Linked DNA regions of Homo sapiens: regions 2 and 3 are each linked to region 1. The links are contacts of gene promoters, found by promoter capture Hi-C in blood cells and fetal thymus (Javierre and others, 2016). All regions are on one chromosome and are shown on one strand. The core of a region is centred on a gene start or on the middle of the fragment in contact, and the rest is flanking DNA. Distances in the headings are between cores, read along the strand shown. Region 1 holds the start of TAX1BP3 (Tax1 binding protein 3). Region 2 has its middle 11 kb from the start of RAP1GAP2. Region 3 overlaps RAP1GAP2 (RAP1 GTPase activating protein 2).

Region 1 (4,235 bases), core at 853-3,352:
GGCCAGGCTTGTCTCAAACTCCTGACCTCAGGTGATCTGCCTGCCGTCGGACTCCCAAAGTGCTAGGATTACAGGCGTGAGCCACTGTGCCCAGCCTAAATGTCCAAACAATGTTTAATCTTCCCTAGACATATTCTAAAAAATACAGCTTGACTTTATTTTTTCTTATGGAAAGGACTGTCACTAAATGAAATGGAACTAAAATGACACCATATATACCTGAAAGTAGTGGTTAGTGGGAGGGAACGCTGGCCTGTGAAAGGTACACCCAGCAAACATATCAAGAGCAAATTAAGAGACCTGCATTTGAATCCTGGCTCTGTCTCTTCCTAGCTGTATCTCCTCTGGGAGAAGTATTTAACCTCTCTGAGCCTCAGGTTCCTTACGAGGGAGCTAACAATAACATCTACCCTGTAAGGTTATTGCTAAAATTAAATGAGAGGATCGGTGTAGAGTAGAAGTCACAATGCCAGCATATAGGGAACTCTTTTTTTTTTTTTTTTCCCTGAGAGACAGACGGAGTCTTGCTCCATCACCCAGGCTGGAATGCAGTGGCACGATCTCGGCTCGCTGCAACCTCTGCCTCCAGGGTTCAAGCGATTCTCTTTCCTCAGCCTCCCGAGTACCTGGCATTGCAGGCGCGCGCCACCACACCCGGCTAATATTTATATTTTTAGTAGAGACGGAGTTTTGCCATGTTGGCCAGGTTGGTCTTGAACTCCTGACCTCAGGTGATCCGCCCACCTCGGCCTCCCAAAGTGCTGGGATTACAGACATGAGCCACCGTGCCCGGCCCAGGGAGCTCTTAATACATATTAACTGTTACTGCTTCTTAGGATGTTAATAAGTTCTTTCCTTATGTAGGCCCTTAGGGCCCGTTTCTGAATGGCCTATGTGTAAATACAAGGACTTAACACAAGGCTATGGCCCATTCCTTGCTCTCCAGGAGTCAAATCTCGGCGATTTTGCATCAGTGGCAGCCTAAGCGTTACAGCAGGAAAGAACTCCACAAAGTGTCTCACGCTTCATTTAATCTGAAGAATATTACAGGCTCTCCGTCTTCAGATATAAATTATTTATAACGTTACAGAACAAGCAGCGAATTCAACCACTTAAGAACTAAGGAAGTCTACATGGTGTTAATTGCTGGCCACAGTCCTCCCGATCTGGTTTTTTAAAAAAGTCCCCCGGGCCCCCATTTCAGTAGACGTGCACCATGCCGTAGAGGAACGTCCAGAACAGGACGTAGGTGAAGAGGCCCCCGATGAGGCCTCCTGTAAAGAGAGGTCTCCGTGATTTGAAATATTTGTTCCACCTCCTTCCCGCCTTGAGAATGAGGAGCAGGGAGAGCAGGACGGAGGCGAGCAGGTAGAAGATGAAGCCGTAGAGGCCGGTGAGGCCGAGGATGCCGGCCGTGGCCCCCGACAGCGCTGACACCGAGGTCCGGCAATAATCCAGGACGGCGGCGTTGCCCCGCACGGCCGCCTCGCTGATGAACGGCGGCCCTTCCCGCTTGGCCACCACCGCGGCCATCGCACCAGCCCGGGCTCGGCCTCTCGCTTTCTCGCGGAACAACGCGGAGCTGCGGAGAAAACCAAGTTACAAGTGGCGCCCGGAGCTCGGTGAGTTGGGTTCACGCCGCCCCCTCCCCCTGGAGCTTCCGAGACCTGGCACCAGTCCTGGGCCTCGGATCTTCCAAAGACGCCGAGGAGATTGAGGGTCCGGGCCGGCCGGGAGGTGGTGGCGCGTCTGCGTTCCCCGGCCACGGTGGCCCAGTTACCTGGAACACGGCGCCGGACACACTACTTAGCGTTCCCTCAGACGGGCAGTGGAAGAAATGCCCGCGGCGCCATCTTGCTCGGAAGACTGCCGGGAGGTCTCGGGCTGCGCACGCGCCCAGATCCCGCCCCGCCCTCCGCGCCTGCGCCGTGGGCGCCCCGGACACGCTCCGCCCTCTGCCCGCTTTTCTGCGCACGCGCAGGGACTTCCGAAAGCGGAGTGGCGCTCCGGCCAGTGATTGGCTGGAGGTTTGTTAACTATTCATGAGGGGGCGGGCCGAGCGGGGCGGCCTTTGTTAAGCAGCGAGGGCGCGACCGCGGGTACTCTGCTGCCGGCTTCTCGGAGCGGCGCTGGGCGACCAGAGCAGGGTCGAGATGTCCTACATCCCGGGCCAGCCGGTCACCGCCGTGGTGGTGAGTGCGCTTGCGCGGGCTCCTCCTCGTCTTGGCCTGACCCCACCTCGCAGAGCGGGAAACGGACACCCCAAGCAGGTTGACAGAGCATCGAACCCGGGGCTCCTGCGAACCGGCGGCAAGGGCTCGGGTCCCCGCTTTGCCGGAGCGGGCCGCAGTTCCCCCAGCCACGAAACAGGGATGGCCGGGACCCGAGAGCCTCCCGAGACCCTGGACAGAGCCCAGACTGCGTGCGCAGGGCGGGGAGGGCCACGGGGAAAGGCCTGGCTGCAGGAGCCTGGAAAAGCGCCCCCTTCCCGGGCCTCCGTGTCCCCAGACGGGGAGCTGCTGGGGGCGGGCGCCGATCCCGACGTCCATGAGTCGCAGCCTCTGGAATGAGGAAATGCTTCCTCCGCTGCAGCCTGCGCCGCCGCCCGGAGGGAGATCTGGGGGTGGGGCTCTCCCGAGCCTGCCGTGGCAGCCCCTGCCCCCTTCCTGTCCAGCCTTGCTCCTCCAACCCACTCGCCGCCTGGTCCAGGGTGGACGCTCGTATAGCTGCGATGAGCGTTTCCTCTTCGAACTTTTCCTGGGTCTCCAGCCCTTAAGGCAAAAAAGTCCAGGCCTCCCTCCTGGCACTTGAGTCCTGAGTAGACCCTCCGGGGGCTAGCCTAGGCCCCTGGCCGCCCTCTGGCTTGTTTTAGGTGCTGGGTGCTATTAGACTAGGCAGAGGGAGGAAGGAAGGCTGGGACGTTAGACTCAGACGCCGGTGTCACAGAGGGACACAACCCTATGACAGAGGTGGGGAGTCCCAGAGAGAAGTGCTCAGCCAGAAAAGACCACCTCAGGAAAGACTCAGGTCTCCTGCCTACCTCCCGACAGCGTTCAGAGAATGAGAAGAAATGCCTGCCCGGTGGGCAGTAGGTCAAGCGAAAGTCCCCGCCCTGGAGCCATAGGGACTGGGTGTGTTATCTCAGTTGGGTGTGCTGGAGAAGCTCCAGCAATCAGGTGGGTGGAGGCAGAGAAGCCACTGATAAAGGCGACAAGTGAGGCTGAGCTTAGAGCACTGGCTCAGGCCTGGGCCAGGAGGAAACATTGCTGGACCAGCTGACAGCTGTCCTAAGCTTCACCCTCCCTGCACCAGCTTGACTTTTTTTTTTTTTTTTTTTTTGAGACAGTCTTGCTCTGTCGCCCAGGCTGGAGTACAGTGGCGCGATCTCGGTTCATTGCAACCTCCGCCTCCTGGGTTCAAGCGATTCTCCTGCCTCAGCCTCCCGAGTAGCTGGGATTACAGGCATGCACCAGCATGCCCAGCTAATTTTTGTATTTTTAGTAGAACGGGGTTTCACCATGTTGGCCAGGCTTGTCTTGAACTCCTGACCTCTGGTGATCCACCTGCCTCAGCCTCCCAAAGTGCTGGGATTACAGGCGTGAGGCACCACACCCGGCCCAGCCTGGCTTTTTTAGATCCCTACCTGCCCCAGAGAGAAGGCACCAGGTTTGCTCTTTAGGTAGAAGGGGGGCAGGGACAGGTGAGGAGCTACAGCAAGCCACCTTCTGCGTGACCTCACCCAGCAAATCAGTGACAGCCCTGTCTCCCAACCCAAGGGCCTGTAATCTTCTGACCGTGCCGGCAGAGCAGGCCTGGAGGAGCTCAGTTTGGGGCATGAGGACCCAGGCACAGTAGGCCTCATGCTTCCTGCCCCCCTCCCTCACGCCATAACTGGTCCCAGGGCCTTCCCCAAAACTGCAGGCCCATGCCCCCTAATTCTGGTAACACCAGGAACGTGCCTGGACATGGTGTGTATGGTCTGGCCTCTCCCTCGAGTCTTGGATTGGGGATGGGTTTGGGCAGGCTCACTCCCCAGTCCCCACCCTCTCCCATGTAGAATCCTGAGAATATTAAAGACATTTAGGCCATTCTTCTGAACCCTGGCTCCATAGATCCATCTGCCTTCTGGACACCTGCCCCGCAGCTCCTGGCACTCCAACCTAACCTGCTCCTCCTCCTCCTGGGTCCCCATCTGAATAATGTGTGTTCAGCCAGGCACGGTGGCTGGGTGCTCC
Region 2 (4,235 bases), core at 987-3,486, 880 kb after region 1:
GAAAAAAAAAAAGAAAAAAAAAAAAAAACCAAAGCTGGGCATGGTGGCTCACACCTGTAATCCCAGCACTTTGGAGGCCATGGTGGGGTGGATCACTTGAGGTCAGGAGTTCGAGACCAGCCTGGCCAACATGGTAAAACCCTGTCTCTACTAAAAACTACAAAACTAGCCAGGTATGGTGGCATGCGCCTATAACCCCAGCTATTTGGGAGGCTGGGGCAGGAGAATGGCTTGAACCCGGGAAGCGGAGGTTGCAGTGAGCAGAGATCGCGCCCCTGCGCACCAGCCTGGGGACAGAGCGAGACTCCATCTCAAAAAAAAAAAAAAAAAAAAAAAGGCTGGGAGCGATGGCTCACGCCTGTAATCCCAGCAGTTTGGGAAGCCAAGGTGGGTGGATCACTTGAGGTCAGGAGTTTGAGACCAGCCCTGCCAAGATGGTGAAACCCCGTCTCTACTAAACACTACAAAAATTAGCCGGGCATGGTGGCACCTGCCTGTAATCCCAGCTACTCAGGAGACTGGGGCAGGAGAGTCGCTTGAATCCGGGAGGCAGAGGGTGCAGTGAGCCCGAGACCACGCCACTGCACTCCAGCCTGGGCAACAGAGTGAGACTCCATCGCAAAACATTAAAAAAAAAAAAAATTGAAGAAAAAAAAAGAAAAGAAAGGCTTGGACCGTGGGGGCTGTCTGAAGGAGCTTCTCACTAAAGGAGAACACACAGCCAACTCTGCCCACACCCACCCAGCTGGGTCACTCCCGCCCTCCCCTGCTAAGGCGGGGCACCTGGCGCCTCCCAGGACCGGCCAGAAGGTGGGCGTTTGCGCCCTCTGCAGGCAAGCTTGGGTGGTGCGAGGAGGAAAGGGAGCGTCTTCCTGGGCTTGTTTCTAGGATGGCAGCCATGTTGCCCTCTGGCGGAAGGGGTTGAAGGGAGGGGGAAATCCTCCTCCTGCAAAAGATAAGCAACCACCACCTGGTGTCAGAACACACGGATTCCAGCCCCAGTCCTGACATTAAATGTAGCTGTGAGGAAACCACTTAAACTCCCTCTGCCTCAGGTTTTTCATCTGTAAAGAATAACTCCAGGCTGGGCGCGGTGGCTCACGCCTGTAATCCCAGCACTGTGGGAGGCCGAGGCGGACGGATCACCTGAGGTCAGGAGTTCGAGATCAGCCTGGCCAACATGGTGAAACCCCGTCTCTCCTAAAAATACAAAATTAGCCAGGCATGGTGGCACATGCCTGTAATCCCAGCTACGCAGGAGGCTGAGGCAGGAGAATCGCTTGAACCCGGGAGGTGGAGGTTGCGGTGAGCCGAGATCTGACCACTGCACTCCAGCCTGGGCAACAAGAGCAAATCTCTGTCTAAAAAAAAAAAAAAAAAAAAGTCATACTTTTTACTTCCTTTCATCTTTACCATACCACAGTCTCCCTCCTGGTAAGTAACTGGAGCCTCAGAGAGGTTAAGAGACTCGTCCAAGGTCACAGTGTAGCAGGACGAGCCACAGACAAAACTCCTCAGACACCGGATTAAAGAAGGAAGAGGTTTTTATTCGGCCGGGAGCATCGGCAGACTCGCGTCTTAAGAACCGAGCTTCCCGAAAAAGAAATTCTTGGCCTTTTTAAAGGCTTACAACTTAAAGGGGTCCACGTGAAAAGGTCGTGATACATCAAGCAAGCGTGGGAAATGTGACTGGGAGCTACATGCATCAGCTAACAGAACAAAAAGTTTCACAATGCTTTTTTCATACAGTGTCTGGAATTTACAGATAACAAAAGTAGTTTAGGTCAGGGGTTGATGTTATAATTATCACTTTTTTTAACTCCTAGGGCCGGGTGGTGGTGCCAAGGTTGTCTGGCTATTTATCTTACTTTTTTTTTTTTTCCAACTTTTTGCTTTTTCTCTCCTCCTATCTTGTGAACTAGGCAAGGTGGGGGCAGGAGGGCAGCAGGAGGAGCAGTGGTCTCCTTCCTTAACAGGGCTGGAAGGTGACAGAATTCAAACCCAGAGTCCCCCTTTGAGCCCTTCTGCCATTCCTTCAGGGAAGGCTCAGAGGAGAGCAGGCCCTAAATGAGGGCTGCGTTAGATGGGAGACACTGCCAGGCTGGGCTCGTGCAAACCCCCAGATTCTTCCTGGGCCCCCTGCCAACGCTCTGCTCAGGAGCAGCCCTAACCTGGGCCACAAGGAGCAAACCCTGAGATTCCTCCCTGAGGCCAGCAAGCGAGGCAGGGGGATGATGCCGCAGGGGGATGATGCCGCAGGCAGATGAACAGTGACTCAGGTGGAAGCAGGCGGCAGGGACAGGGAGAAGCGGAGAGCTCCCTCAGCTCAAACACAGCATGTTCAGGCCTCACCATCTTGATTTTTCCTGGATAAAGATGGGGGTCTGGTGGGGTTCATCCCAGCCCCAAGCCCAGAGCAATTCTGCCTGAGCCCCACCCTCATGGTATCTCCATCAGCAACATGTGTCCCAGGCCCCTTGAAGGGAGCAGGGCTGACCTGTAATGAGATAATAAACTGGGACAGAAAAGGCCTTTCCCATTCAAGTTCCCCCTTCTCTCATTACGGGCCCCACCCTCAGCAGGGCTCTGCACAGTAAGATGCCTCCTGGACTACATGAGAGTAGGCGGGGATCTGGGGACAGACCCAAGCCTCACCTGTGGCCAGGGGATCAGTGAGCAAAAGTGTAGCTGCTGCTAAAAGAATAAACTGCTGGCCGGGCGCGGTGGCTCACGCCTGTAATCCCAGCACTTTGGGATGCCGAGTCGGGCGGATCACTTGAGGTCAGGAGTTCAAGACCAGCCTGGCTAACATGGCAAGACCCTGTCTCTACTAAAAATACAAAAATTAGCCAGGTGTCATGGCAGGCACCTGTAGTCCCAGCTATTTGGGAGGCTGAGGCAGGAGAATCGCTTGAGTCCGGGAGATGGAGGTCGCAGTGAGCCGAGATCACGCCACTGTACTCCAGCCTGGGCGACAGAGCGAGACTCTGTCTCTAAATAAATAAAAATAGGCCAGGCGTGGTGGCTCACGCCTGTAATCCCAGCACTTTGGGAGGCCGAGGAGGACAGATCACAAGGTCAGGAATTCGAGACCATCCTGGCTAACACAGTGAAACCCTCGTCTCTACTAAAAATACAAAAAATTAGCCTGGCGTGGTGGCATGGACCTGTAGTCTCAGCTACTTGGGAGGCTGAGACAAGAGAATCACTTAAACCCGGGAGGTAGAGGTTGCAGTGAGCCGAGATTGCGCCACTGCATTCCACCCTGGGCAACAGAGCAAGACTCCATCTCAATAAATAAACAAATAAAATAAAAAGTGAAATAGCTTCCACCTGGCTCTCTTTCTGGGCATGCTTGTCCCTTAGCTCAGCCACCATGCTGGGAGGAAGCCCAATCTAGCATGTGGAGACAGCACATAGAGAGGCCCATGTGCAGAGGAACTGACCCAAAGCCAACAGCCAGCAAGAAACGCCAGACGTGTGAGCGACTAAGCCTTCAGATGGCTTCAGCCCCTAGACCTTGAAACACTCCAGACAATGCTGAGTGGAGAAGCGTTATCCCCACTGAACCCTGCCCATGTTGCAGATTCATGGGCAAAATCAGTGTCACCAGTGTTTTAAGCCATAAGCTTTGGGTGGTTTATTAAGCAGCATTAGATAACCAGAACACTGGCAGGACCAGAATTTGAACCAAGCAAGCTGGCTCCAGAGCCTGTGCTCCTGCCACTCTGCAACAGTCCCTGTTGTGTAAGAGACAGTATATAGGAGGGATTTCAAGCTTAGGTCTGGAGTCAGTCCTCTCTTCATTCATTAATTCATTCATTCATCAAATGTTTATTGCATCCCTACTGTGTTCCAAGCTGTCTTCCAGTTCTAAGAATATTTTAGTAAGCAAGACAGACAGGTCCCTGCTCTAGGTGGGGAAGAGGGGGTTAGGAAGTAGAGGATAAATGAGGGCTACCTTTATGCAGGTATTTACAATAGGGTGATCCGATCCAAATGGGACCAGATGGCTAGGGAGTCCTGTGTAGAGGGGGTGATCTGGGATGGCCTCTCTGAGAGGGAGACTGCCAAGACGAGACGGACACAGCTTCACAGCTTTGTGAAGAGCGGAGGGAACAGCAGAAGAACGGGTCTGGGTTCAGAACCCGGCTCCATCACTTACTAGCTGTGTGACCTTGTGGAAGTAACCCAGGCTCTCTGAGCCTCTACTTCCTCATAAAATGGGAAAACTT
Region 3 (4,235 bases), core at 464-2,963, 820 kb after region 1:
TAGCTAAAGAAAACTATTTTCAATATCCAGGAGCAAACGAAAGAACAAACGCCAGAAAGGCGAAGAGGCAAAGTCACCCTATGGCGGTGGGGCGAGAGGGTGGGTGGGGAGCGAACAACCTCCAAACTTGCTCCTCGCCTGCCGGCACCGAGCGCAGAGCAAGCGGATCTCGGCCAGGCAGGCACCTCGAGGGCTCAGCCAAGTTGCAGGAAGCAAATGGCAACACCGGCGCATGGAGCCGCCTGGGCTGGATCAATGGCATCCGCGGCTGCAGGCTTGGGGAACGGGGTCGCGGTCTGCAAAGGGTCTGGGGGCGACGGACTTGGGGTCCCTCCGTCAGGGATCCACCCCGATGCGCCCTCCCAGCGGCCCTCCGATTCCGCCAAGGTCCTGCCCAGGCTCCTCGCACCAGCCAGGGTCCGGGGCGAAGCTCCGAACTCGGTTCGCACGACGGTACCTGGAGAGGAGGCTTTTTTCTAACCAACACGGAACCAAACACCCATCGGAAAAGTCCACCCCAAAGAAAACTGGCATGCAGCAGGAGAGCGGAGGGAAGCGGCCGGCGCTGCAGGGGTTTACCTTTTCTCTTTATTCTGCCTCCGGGATTTGTGCAGGAGTCCGATGAGCACCACGGCGGCGCGGATCCCCGCCTTTCGGCAATGCCTCCTCCCCGCGGGCTGGGACATGGCGAGGCCGCCCGCGGTGCCCGACCTCGCCCGCCCGCGTCCCCGCAGCCCCGGCTCCGCGCGCTCCGCACCCGGCCCCTGAGCCCGCGCCCCGGCCCCCGGCCTCCGCCTCGCATGGGCCCCGCCCCGCCTAGGTGCGCCCCGGGGGTCAGGTGACCGCGCGCTCTCCCCTCCCTCCCGGCGACCTTCAGCGTCTCCTCGGGGCCCGCGGGGCAGCCGCCGTCCGCTCCCCCGGCGCGGGCATTTCCGAGGCTCGCTCGGGGCGCGGCCCGGGCCGGCGGCTCCCGGCTCCCGCTCAGACGCGCCGCCCGCGCCGGGACCCGCCCCGGCCCCGCCTCCCGCGCCCCGGCCTCGGCCGCCCGGATGGTGGAGGACGCGGGGCACAGGGAGCGGGCGAAGCGCAGGAGGAGGCGGACAGCGCTCCCGGGACCCCCCTGCCCGGCTCCCAGGCGCCCTCCCCGGCCCCGGCCCTGCCTCCCCTCGCCCGCTCCTTCTGGTCCCCGCCCGCACTCCCGCCGGCGGCCCCGAGCTCCCTCCCCAGGCAGAGGCGGCTGCCGCCCTCCCCGGCCCGGCCCCGGATACTTCCCCGATGCTGTCACTGCTTTTAAAACAGAGGGAGAGAAAACAGGCACCAAGAGGAAACGCGCGTCCTCCTCCGTCCAAACGAAACTGCCCGCGCGCGGTCCCCGTCCCCTCCCGGCCGCCCAGCGCTTACAGGGGGCACCTGAGCCCGGCGCCCGCCCCGGCTCGCAGCTCCCGGGCCCGGGTCCCCGGGTGGGAGCTTGCGGATGGGAGGAACGAGGCGGAATTCTGCCCCCGCCTCCCCGCAGAGTCGGCGCAAGGATCGCCGAGCTGGGATGCAGAGTGGGCTGGGGTCGGCTCCCCGCGAACACTGGCTCTCCCGGCCCTGGGAGTTTGACTCCACATGGGTTCAATAACCAACTTCACGGCGACCCCGCTTCCTCCTGGCGGGCCGGGCGCCCCCCACTCCGCCCTCCCCGCGCCCACCCGGGCCTGGCCGCTGCGCACTCGTCGCGTGGTCCCTCCCGCCCCTGCCAGCCGCGCGCGAGCCTCATCTCCTTCGGAAAGGAAGGGCGGAAGGTCGGAAGGTCGGAAGGTCGCGCCGGCTCCTGGGGAAAGGGCTGTGGCCTGGTCCCTACCATCGGCGCGGGGCCTCGCTCACAATCGCCCTCATCCACTTCCAGGTGCTGCCCAGCCTCCCAGCCCCCTCCCGCCTCACCCCTCCGAAGCATCACTCACAGCTTTGCCCCTCTAGGGAAAAGGAAGTGGGCAGGGGGCTGAAAGGAATTAGAACAAGCCAATTAGTCCATCTTTGGGGCCGAAGAGGTTCCCCCTGAGGCAATTTGCCTTGTTTTTTGTTGTTGTTTTGTTTTTTGTTTTGTTTTTAATAGTCTGGTGTTCAAGCAAACACAGAAAATCCAGGCAGGGAGGGGACCATGCTGGGTGGAGAGGGGAGAGGGACTGCAAACGAATTCGAGGGCCTGAGGCTTCAGCCCTGCCTCTCCAATGCCCACAGCTTCCTGCTGGCACTGGAGTTGGGGTGGAGGGGAGGAAGCCCCAGGGTGGTTCTTAAATGCACCTGGTCTATTTATGAAGCAGCCGTTACCACTGGCCTTGTGCCCCCCACCCCCACCCCCACCCCCTCCCTGCCGGGGTTGTGGGGGATCAGAGATATAGATAGCCATGGACATCTTTTTATAGCTAGAGATTTGAATGACCCGGGCCCCACTCCTGAGATTGGCGGTTAGGCAGGCTGCAAGTACTATGCCAGTAGTGACTTAAGAATTGGTCTGGAAAAAGAATAAAATGAGTGTCCTTGGTAGAGAAAAGGGAAGAGCTCCCAGCAGCATGCAACCCAGAGCTTCTCTTCCCCTCTCTCCCACCGCGCTATAGCACACAGCACCCGAGGACCCACAGGTTAGCTGATGGACCGCTTCAGTTAGATGGCAGGGAAGGTGATGAGGGCGCTGGCTTAGGTCTATCCTAGCGTTGGGTGTATTTTACCCACACACAGAAGGCTGCACCTCAACGGAAGGCCTGATCCTCCTTCCCAGCAGGTGAGAGTGTGGGAGCTAGTTCAGGTCAAGTGCACAGTGGGTAACAGGGTGGCTCACACCTGTAATCCCAGCACTTTGGAAGGCCGAGGCAGGCAGGTGGATCACTTGAGTTGAGACCAGGAGTTCTAGACCAGCCTGGGCAACATAGTGAGACCCCACCTCTCCAAACAACTACAACAGGGAATTGGGATGATGAAGGCACAAAATCCACCATGCAGGTTCCATTATTCATTCTCTTATTCTGGGGTTCCCAGCCCTCTAAGTCCTTCTACAAGCCCAGTGTCACTGCAAACACAAGGCTGTCCCCCAAAAAATCGTAACCTCTCAGCCCCTGACTCCTGAGTCTCTAAGAGGTAGAATTTTCCTGGCAGTGAGAGGTCCCATCCTTCTGCCCCTGCCCTACAAGCTCGCCACCTTTGGTGCATAAACAGCAATTTCCCCTCTTAACTCCCACTCCAGCCCCCACAGCCCATCACACCCACACCCCACAGAGGGGACCCCAAAGCACAAGAAAACCCATCAATAGCAGAGACTGGAACAACCATCAATGCTAGGCTTACCCATTCCACCAGCATTTATTAAACATGTACAGTATGTCCAGCTTTATGCAAGAGACCAGGGCAAGAAAGAAAAATGGAAGACCATCCCTGCCCGAAACAAACAGGGTTAACACACTCCAAACCTCAAAAGAAGACCATTTCCAGCCAGTGTGTGCAGTTAGCCCAGCCAAAGCTTCCCACAATTGGGCCACACGCCACCTCCTTCATAATTCTTTGTCTTAGTGTCATGCTGCTCTGCTGTTTATAATTTTGCTTTAATTACATCAACTTACTTTTTCACTTTTTTTTTTTTTTTTCTTGAGACGTTGTTTTGCTCGTCGCCCAGGCTGGAGTGCAATGGCACGGTCTTGGCTCACTGCAACCTCCACCTCCTGGGTTCAAGCGATTCTCCTGGCTCAGCCTCCTGAGTAGCTGGGACTACCGGCATTCGCCACCACATCGGGCTAATTTTGTATTTTTAGTAGAGACGGGGTTTCGCCATGTTGGCCAGGCTGATCTCGAACTCCTGACCTCAGGTGATCCGCCTGCCTTGGCCTCCCAAGTTCTGGGATTACAGGTGTGAGCCATCGCGCCTGGCCTTTACTTAATTTTTTTTTTTTTTTTTTTTTGAGGTGGAGTCTTGCTCCATCCCTCAGGCTGGAGTGCAGTGGCAAGATCTTGGCTCACTGCAACTTCCGCCAACCGGGTTCATGCCATTCCCCTGCCTCAGCCTCCCGAGTAGCTGGGATTACAGGCGCCCGCCACCATGCCCGGCTAGTTTTTTTTGTATTTTTAGTAGAGACGGGGTTTCACCGTGTTAGCCAGGATGGTCTCGATCTCCTGACCTCGTGATCCGCCCATCTTGGCCTCCCAAAGTGCTGGGATTACAGGCATGAGCCACAGCGCCCGGCTGCCTTTACTTAATTTTAAAA

Evidence for each region. Contacts are between HindIII fragments. The CHiCAGO score rates a contact against its expected background, and 5 or more counts as called.
Region 2: a fragment that was not itself captured here is called in contact with the fragment with the promoter of TAX1BP3 in region 1 in 2 of 17 cell types (monocytes and fetal thymus); the score reaches 6.3 in monocytes.
Region 3: a fragment that was not itself captured here is called in contact with the fragment with the promoter of TAX1BP3 in region 1 in 2 of 17 cell types (M1 macrophages and megakaryocytes); the score reaches 5.9 in M1 macrophages.

Annotation. Positions count from the first base shown.
Region 1 is chr17:3,666,445-3,670,679 of GRCh38, reverse strand. It overlaps TAX1BP3 (Tax1 binding protein 3), which reads left to right and starts at 2,102. Exons shown (of 4, transcript NM_014604.4): 1 at 2,102-2,192. The coding sequence starts at 2,154. EMC6 (ER membrane protein complex subunit 6) reads right to left here and starts at 1,868. Exons shown (of 2, transcript NM_031298.4): 1 at 1,781-1,868; 2 at 1,015-1,582. The coding sequence starts at 1,533. The coding sequence ends at 1,201. P2RX5-TAX1BP3 (P2RX5-TAX1BP3 readthrough (NMD candidate)) reads left to right here. Exons shown (of 15, transcript NR_037928.1): 12 at 1-1,622. RefSeq lists enhancers at 652-1,182, 1,183-1,713, 2,246-2,776, 2,777-3,308 and a silencer at 1,815-2,154. The HindIII fragment of the contact is 10,539 bases long and covers 1-3,294 here.
Region 2 is chr17:2,783,048-2,787,282 of GRCh38, reverse strand. It overlaps a transcript of RAP1GAP2 not described here. Among named protein-coding and RNA genes, the nearest start is that of RAP1GAP2, 11 kb to the left of the region's middle. The HindIII fragment of the contact is 2,791 bases long and covers 841-3,631 here.
Region 3 is chr17:2,850,447-2,854,681 of GRCh38, reverse strand. All of the region lies in intron 2 of RAP1GAP2 (RAP1 GTPase activating protein 2), which reads right to left. Among named protein-coding and RNA genes, the nearest start is that of RAP1GAP2, 56 kb to the right of the region's middle. The HindIII fragment of the contact is 3,571 bases long and covers 1-3,498 here.